Linked DNA regions of Homo sapiens: all the other regions are linked to region 1. The links are contacts of gene promoters, found by promoter capture Hi-C in blood cells and fetal thymus (Javierre and others, 2016). All regions are on one chromosome and are shown on one strand. The core of a region is centred on a gene start or on the middle of the fragment in contact, and the rest is flanking DNA. Distances in the headings are between cores, read along the strand shown.

Region 1 (2,700 bases), core at 150-2,649:
TTCATCATCCCATACTTCTCATATGGCATATGCTTTCTCTATGGTAAAGAAACAATTGTTCTGAAACAAGTGACTTGGGGTCCCAGGGGCACCTGACAGCACCTAGTCTGCTCTTTGATGTCATATCAGGAATTTTTTAAATCCCCTTCCCAGGGTGACATTAAGCCTGCAAAATACAACTGTGTTTAAAAACAAAAATTAAGAAAAGAAAATAAAAGAACATAAAGAAAACAACCATAACGTGAACTTCCAACCTATTACAGCTGACTAAATACACGCAGTTACACACTTAAAATATTTCATTATGCTTGTCAATGAAACAGTGCAGTCCCTTCACACTACTGTAATGCTTAAAAGTACAGTTTTACCCCCAATATTTTCCCCCAAGATGCAAAGCATCCCCCAAATGGGCAGACATAAAACATTAGGTCTTCACTGCTGCTTCTAAATTTTGCGAGCCAATAAGCAATTGGTGTAAAGTGCAAAATCTCAGAAGAGCAAGACTCGTCTGCTTTTTTGTGATATGCTGTTATTCACCCTTCACCTTTACTTCCTTTAAAAATCAAAAGTTACCTAATGTTCAAGGCGATATCAATGGAAATTTAGCTAAATACTGGCACCGCAACGGTCTATTTCCCCCAAAGAATATAAGATTACATTAATTTCCTAGTAGTTTAACTCAAGTTTTACCTTTCATCTTCACCTATAGAGTTTTTAAAAGTTTCTATTCCTGTTGCATACAAAATTACTTACAATATCTGTGCATAGTAAAGAATTTTACAATTATATAAAGCCTTGCACATTTAGACGCTACCAACCTGCTCTGTCTCTCCTGACTGTGCAAAAGGCAAAAAGAGCTCAGTAATCCTAGCAGAAGAATGCAAATAACGTCAATGCACAGCTGAACTGCAAGCCCTGCCTTACAGGAACTCTCTGTGTCTGCAAAAAAAGACACATACTAAACAGGAAATGCAACTGAGCTGTGGAAAACCTCAAACTTAAAAATGCACTCGCCAGGCGAAAATTGCATCCATGCATTCATAAATGCATGCACAACCCTTTGCATTTTTGCAACTAATGCAAACAGCCTCTTACCTTTCGACTGAGACATTTTCCCCTTTCCTTTGATGGGGGAGGGGAGCACAAAAGACTTTGCCTTGCTTCTCTTCTGTAGCTAGTTTTGCAACAAAGATGCAAGCTGCAGGCGTGCAATCTTCATGCAAGTGGAGTTTCTCTTGACCGATGCAGCAGATGGACTTTCAGGGAATCAAGATGGAAATGCACACCTTGCAAAACAGACTGGAAAGTGATTTTTCCCCCAGTTGCAACGTTAGGGAAGGCTGTGCTGCAGCTACATGATGGGCCAGGGCTGGCAGCTAAAAGCTCCAAACTTGGAACTGAGTATCTTAGTGCGCAGACGTCCTTCCTGCGAAGGGCGCGAAGGCCGCTGGGTAATGTAGTTCTCCGGCGGAGTCCACGGGGCTCTGATTTAAGGAAACGTGGTCGCCCCGGTCGCTGAGCGAGATAACTGGGTGCGACAAAGATTGCGTCCAGATAAACAAGTCAGACACACACTCAGTAGAGTGATGGGTGAAAAGCGGCAAGGCCAAGACGGGGCGGCAGTTTTGTTCTCGAAAAGCCTCTGAAACAACAGCTAAAGAATATTAGGTTAGCTAAAGAGCTTTTGGCTTGTCGAGAAGGTCTGTTTGGGAGTTTAGTGTGTTGATTTTGCAGCTCAGCACCTGTTGTGCTGTTCTTGCCTGTAGACGTTTTACCCTCACACCTCCGTTTTTTGTTTGTTTGGGGGTTTTTTTGTTGTTGTTGTTGTTGTTTTTTTCCCGAGAGGGAGTCTCGCTCTGTCGCCCAGGCTGGAGTGCAGTGGCGCGATCTCTGCTCACTGCAACCTCCGCCTCCCGGGTTCAAGCAATTCTCCTGCCTTAGCCTCCCAAGTAGCTGGGATTACAGGTATGCGCCACCACGCCCGGCTAATTTTTAGTAGAGACGGGGTGTCAACATTTAGCCAGGCTGGTCTCGAACTCCTGACCTTATGATCCGCCCACCTCGGCCTCCCAAAGTGCTGGGATTACAGGCGTGAGCCACCGCGCCCGGCCACACCTCCATTTTTAAAAACATTTTTTCTAGTAAGAAAAATGTATGGATGATTGGGTTGGCTGGAGGTAAGGTTACCTTTGCTCTGTGGAGAAGATGCAAAGTTTTATTTTGTCAGAAACAATCCAGGTCAGTTATTTCCAAGGAACCCGAAACTCAGTAGGGGGTAGGTGTGGGGAAGAAGATTGGAGGCTTCTCATTTCTCACAGGGTTACAGAGGAAGTTCTGCTTTTTATACATCAACGCTAACTTTATCAAAATTAAGGTATCTAGATGATTTTTTCTCACCTGGGAGGAGAGTCCCTGGCCTAGGGGGAAAGTGGGTGGAAAATGAATACAGTCGAATATCTTGAATTTATTCATTAAAATTAAAAGATACTTGTTGAGTGTCCAGGATGTGCCAGGCGCCTTTCTAGGGCCCTGGGATGTTCATTCATTCTGTACCGCTCACACATAGTGGGTACACAGCACCCTGATGGAGAACGGCATCACCTTTTTCACAAGGAAGCCAGAGATGCTTAGCACAATTCACTGCAAGGAATGGAGAGGAGTGAGCAGGGCATGGGCAAAAATGAGCTCGGACTTATACTT
Region 2 (2,700 bases), core at 169-2,668, 1.1 Mb before region 1:
CACACTCTGGGGACTGTGGTGGGGTCGGGGGAGGGGGGAGGGATAGCATTGGGAGATATACCTAATGCTAGATGACACGTTAGTGGGTGCAGCGCACCAGCATGGCACATGTATACATATGTAACTAACCTGCACAATGTGCACATGTACCCTAAAACTTAGAGTATAATAAAAAAAAAAAAAATTAAAAAAAAAAAAAAAAAAAAGAAAGGCTTGGAAGTGTGCCTTCTTAGCAACCATTCTACACCATGAAAAAGAAACAGAAATCTTTGATAGGCAGGTGGTCACCCTGGCCATGACTAGTTGTGGTAATCTTGTTACCCTTTTCCAAAGATGTATTGATGGTAGCCATGTGACTAAATCCTGTCTAGTGCGACTTAAGAGGAAAGTTCCTAGGAATGTTTTTTGTTTTTCTCATAAAAGGGAAAGACTCCACTAACATGACTTTTAACCCCTTTTTACTTCCTCTTTTCTCCTCTCTGGAAGGAAGATGCAGTCATAGAGACATAACAATCATCTAGTAACCATGAGGGAAATGTAGAGAAGCCAACACACAAAACATAGTGTAGTTTAAAAAAATAAAGAAAAAAATTCTGTTCTTGATTGTGTCTCTCAGCTACTTAGTCTTGAATATTTATCCCTAGAACTTTCTATCCCTAGAATTAATCCTGACCATTACTTAAACATATAACTCCAATTTTTTAAAATATATTTAATGTATTAGTCCTAGAAGATGGTAGTCGACAGATCATAATTTGACAAATACTGATCCAAAGCATTTCAACCCACCCTGACATCCAACATGTGGTAGACACGACATGGGAAATGCTACCTAGCTGTTCTATGAAATACACACAGTGCAGGTCCATGTACAAAGCTTAAGTGGCCTAAAAGGACATCTTATCCCAGCTATAAACATCACTTCCTATTGACTTTCTTGACTAACTTGTGATGCTATCCTATATTCCAGTGTTCCACTCCAAAAATCTTGGATGGGGAAGCCAAACAGATTGTCTAGGAACTGCAAGAGCCATGGAAACATCATGAAGGACTTGGTTTGCTGGGGTGGGGAGGAATGGGGGATTGAGGCATAAAATATTAGCAATCATGGGAAAAAAATCTTCATCATAGCAAATATTTGCCAGTAATCCTGTCCATTCAGACAACTCTGACTGGGATGAGAGTCGTGAGATGAGAGAGGATGCGTACTGAGTGTGGATATGTGTTCCTGTTTTTCCAAGGTGGACCTGGCTCCGTATTTCTCTGCTTTGTGGATCACATCCACTTTTGCTGTCAAATCACATAGTTACCCCTTTGGATCCACGGGATATGCCTTATATGTGCAGGGAAGACTCCATCTATATTTACAGAAACTATGTTTAAAAATTCCAAATCACATGCTCTTCGGTTCAGAGAATTCTTTCAGTCCTCCACATGCTAGCTGCATGTAGTTCTAGATGCCCTAGGCCAGGGCTTCCCATGATATCCCAGAGTAACAAGCAAACGATTTTAGGTACATGGTACCCTGTACTCGGGAAAAACAAATGAGACTGAGCAAGTCTCATTGCAAGATCCATCCCAAGGGCTGAGCGAATCAACATCTCAGCATATTTGAACCCGCACTTGGGCATCCTATGTACCATACGCACTGGAAGGAAAGCTGTGCTGTAGGCTCACATCTTGTCTCCACGTCCCTCAATATTTCCAGTTAGTAATATTTCTCCTGAAGGCCTGATTCATAGTTAGAAATACCCTAAGTAGGGAACCATTACCAGAATAACAGACTTCAGACTACTCAGGCCACCACCTTGCCCTTTCCAGACATTATAACCCACGTAGGTCTCCAGCTCTGGCTGATGAAGGAGGTCCAACGAAGCCAATTTATGCAACGGTGCTGCAGGTGTTCCCCTTTCCTGCCAAAGTTAAAGAGTAGCAGTGCCTTTTGAAGATAAAGCTTCAAAGGAATAATTCACTCAAAGATGGTTTTTCAGTTGCCTTAGGCAAGGCTGAATTTGTCTCGCACCATTTACATAAAACTAAATAAAAATGTGTCTTCCTTCCTACTCATAGGGACTATTTTACAACTAAACTTTTCAAAAGGCCAGAAGCTCATCATTTGGCTCTAACGGGGCAAACTTTGTTACTCCTTGTCTATTTCAGCAATCCCTGCGCCTCAGTTTGATCCTCTGTTGATTTAAGGATTGGATTAAATGTTTCCAAAATTTGTGAGAGGAGGTAGAGTGTATTTGGGCTTGATTTCAGTTTTGCCATTTAGTCAGATGGTATGTAACCCTGGAAAGTCACTGAATTTCTTTAAGTGTCCATTTTCTCATCAGTAACAAAATGAAGATAATCCACATACTTATCCTATGGATATGTAAGAATCATAAATCAATTTGCTAAATTGGCTGAATGTAATAGGACACAATTGTTACAGGAAAGGGGTCCCAATCCAGATCCCAAGAGAGGGTCTTGGCTTTCGCTCAAGAAAGACGAATTCAGGGAGAATCCAGAGAGTAAAGTGAACGCAAGTTTATTAAGAAAGTAAAGGAATAAAAGAATGGCTACTCCATAGACACAGCAGACCCAAGGGCTGCTGGTTTCTTATTTTTATGGTTATTCCTTGATGACATGCTAAACAAGGGGTGGAGTATTCATGCCTCCCCTTTTTAGACCATATAGGGTAACTTCCTGATGTTG
Region 3 (2,700 bases), core at 195-2,694, 1.4 Mb after region 1:
TGTGAAGACGGGCAGCTGGTGTATTAGCATTCTCGTTGGTGGACATGGTTATGAGACAAAGGGAGAAAGCTAAAAGATGGGGGAAGAGAAAAATATTTCCTTTATCATTTTCCTTTGTCAATAATAGTACCAAATAAGAACTGAATTATCAAGCATCTACTGAATCCACACCTGTATACTAGAGGGGGGATCATCATGTTTTCGGCACTATGAAATAGCTTTACCCAAAGGGGAAGTGTCCCCCTTCCCTCTAAAGGGCTGAGACTTCCTGGAGAGGGCTCTCCATCAGAAATAGAATGCAAGCTATATAAATTGAAACTTCCTAGTAGCCATATTTTTAAAAAGGAGAAAAGAAACAAGTGAAACTAATTTTAATAATGTATTTTACTTAACCCAACATATCCAAATAGTATTTCAACGTGTTATCAATATATAAAATAACTGACATCTTCTACATTCTTTTTCCATACTCCATCTTTGAAATCTTTTGTGTACTTTAAGCTTACAGCGTATTTCAATTTGGACTAGCCACATGTATCCACCGTTTCTGACAGCCTAGTTCGATACTCCAGAGTCCCTAATAGTTAATTCAAGACAAAGTAGGGGAACCAAGTCAACTTACAGCTAAAAATTATGTGCCAGGGCAATAAATTCAGATCCTCAGGAGGCTCTCCCTATTTTACTGTCTTTACTTGGCCAAAATAGGTGCAGACTCGAAAATTAAATAAAAATTTGCTTCATCATTACATTATGGTCAACATTAAAAATGCAGTGCCGCATCTCGCATATTTGATTTGCATTTCCAGAGACTAGGAGTGAATGCGCTTAATTAGGATGACATCAGCTGTGCGTCATTCAGAAGATGACAAAAGTCAAAGCCCTCCTTACAATTTGCTATCTTTGCTTTCATTACGCTCGCCTACGACTTGGTGGCAGAGCCACCCCCGGGGCCTAGGTGTCAGAGACGGTGCTCCCAACTGCCACCCCCAGCCCCTGCCCCCACGCCGGGGAAGATGCAACGAGAAAGGAGGAGGCGAAACCAGGGCCGCCACAAGTCCTCCCGGGACATTCGCCCTCAAGCCTGGCTCGCTCCGATTCTCCCGGCCGCGACGCGTTAAGGCCTCCGCTGCCGTTTGCAGAGCGTCGGCGCCCTAAACCCGCAGACCCCGCGAAACTCAGCCGCCTGGTCAATGAACGTCGCCCCCGAGGCCTAGTCAACGCGGGAGGCAGAGCCAGGCTCGGCGTGGACCCGGGGCCTCCCTCCCCCAACCCAAAAGGCGAACGCCGCCCACGGGCAAGCCGTTAGCGCTCGGGCCGGGCCGCCGCCTGAGTCTGTACCTGCGAAGCGGGCCTGGGCTTCCACGGGAGGCGATGCGGGGGGAATCAGCGGCTGTAGGGCGACTGCGTTCAAAGGGTCCACCTCGACTCAGCTCAAAGACCGTGTGGCTCGTGCAGCCGGCCGGCGCGATTTAAATTTCCCGGTGACTCCGCATTCCGATTGGCTGGTTCGAGCCTAAGCTGTGTGCCCATTGGTGGATTTGAAAAACACGTTGGGAGGGGAGGGAGTCATAGGGCTTGGGGGCGAGTGGGAGGGGGGAAAGAAAAAAAAAAAAAGAGGATGGCATCGCGAGATGAGGGAGCGGCCGGGCGGTGAGGGAGCGGCCGGGCGGTGAGGGAGCGGCCGGGCGGTGAGGGAGCGGCCGGGCGGTGAGGGAGCGGCCGGGCGGTCCCTGAGCGCCTGGCGGGGCGGAGCGGGAGGACTCCAGATCCCGTCAAGCAGCGCGAAGGGGCGGTTCCCTGGGCCGTTCGTGTTTCCATAGGGTTGAAGCGTGCATGGTCCTTGGGCGTTTTCCTGGGCGACAGCCTTAAACAAATACCACAAAATGATTCTCTAAGTCATTATTTTAAAAACTTTGTTGTTGATCTTCATGAAAATAAAAAAATTCTAATTAGTAAATAAGTAATCTTTATAGAAAAACATATTGCTTTGCATTTTTTTCCTATTATGACACCCAAAGTACTCGGCGGGGGTTTCTGGCTACTATGGGAGGGAAGATTTGTGTTATATTTTTTAGTTTAGTTTTTTTTTAATTGCATCATAAAAGACTGTATAGAAGCCGCAAATATGGAAACAAAAGGTTTCTTATGCCTGTTTCTCCAAAAACTCAAGTTTTTTATTTTTAAATAATTTCAAATGCAGCAGAATTGCAAATCTTTATCCAGATTTGCCAAATCTTAACATTTTGCCACATTTGCTATTGCTTTCTCTATACATATATATGTATACATATGCACGCGTGTACATATGTGTGATTTTAATATGTTACTTTAAGAGAAAGTTTCAGAATCATGTCCTTTTTCCTCTGTTTCACGGTGTCTCTCCTAAGAAAAGACATTCTCTTATATAACCACACTGCAGTCATCAAATTCAGAAAAACTGAAATTTCATGCTGTTGTTTAGTATGTAGTGTGTGTTCAAGTTTTTTCAATTGTTATAGTAACATTCTATGCTCATTACACATTTCTGAATTTTGCATTTTTTGCCATATGCTCAAACGAACAAACAAAACAAAGATGGTCAACAGAGCATCAGGATTCTGGGCCATTTTTGTTTCTGCAATTTTTTTGTGTTCTAAAAGATTACATTTTAGAAAAGTTTTCATGGTTTATTTCTTACTATAAATAAATTCAAACAGCAAG

The links. The method cuts DNA at HindIII sites, captures the fragments that hold promoters and counts their contacts. A CHiCAGO score of 5 or more calls a contact.
Region 2: a contact is called between a fragment that was not itself captured here and the fragment with the promoter of MAP2K6 in region 1, in 1 of 17 cell types (fetal thymus). The highest score is 5.2, in fetal thymus.
Region 3: a contact is called between the fragment with the promoter of KPNA2 here and the fragment with the promoter of MAP2K6 in region 1, in 1 of 17 cell types (monocytes). The highest score is 11.4, in monocytes.

What each region holds. Positions count from the first base shown.
Region 1 is chr17:69,413,396-69,416,095 of GRCh38, reverse strand. It overlaps MAP2K6 (mitogen-activated protein kinase kinase 6), which reads right to left and starts at 1,399. Exons shown (of 12, transcript NM_002758.4): 1 at 1,096-1,399. The coding sequence starts at 1,111. The HindIII fragment of the contact is 8,167 bases long and covers 1-2,700 here.
Region 2 is chr17:70,542,295-70,544,994 of GRCh38, reverse strand. No RefSeq gene overlaps it. Among named protein-coding and RNA genes, the nearest start is that of KCNJ2, 370 kb to the right of the region's middle. The HindIII fragment of the contact is 1,077 bases long and covers 880-1,956 here.
Region 3 is chr17:68,034,479-68,037,178 of GRCh38, reverse strand. KPNA2 (karyopherin subunit alpha 2) reads right to left here and starts at 1,444. Exons shown (of 11, transcript NM_002266.4): 1 at 1,339-1,444; 2 at 1-69. The coding sequence starts at 46. RefSeq lists enhancers at 912-1,131, 1,151-1,698 and a silencer at 1,662-1,711. The HindIII fragment of the contact is 7,979 bases long and covers 504-2,700 here.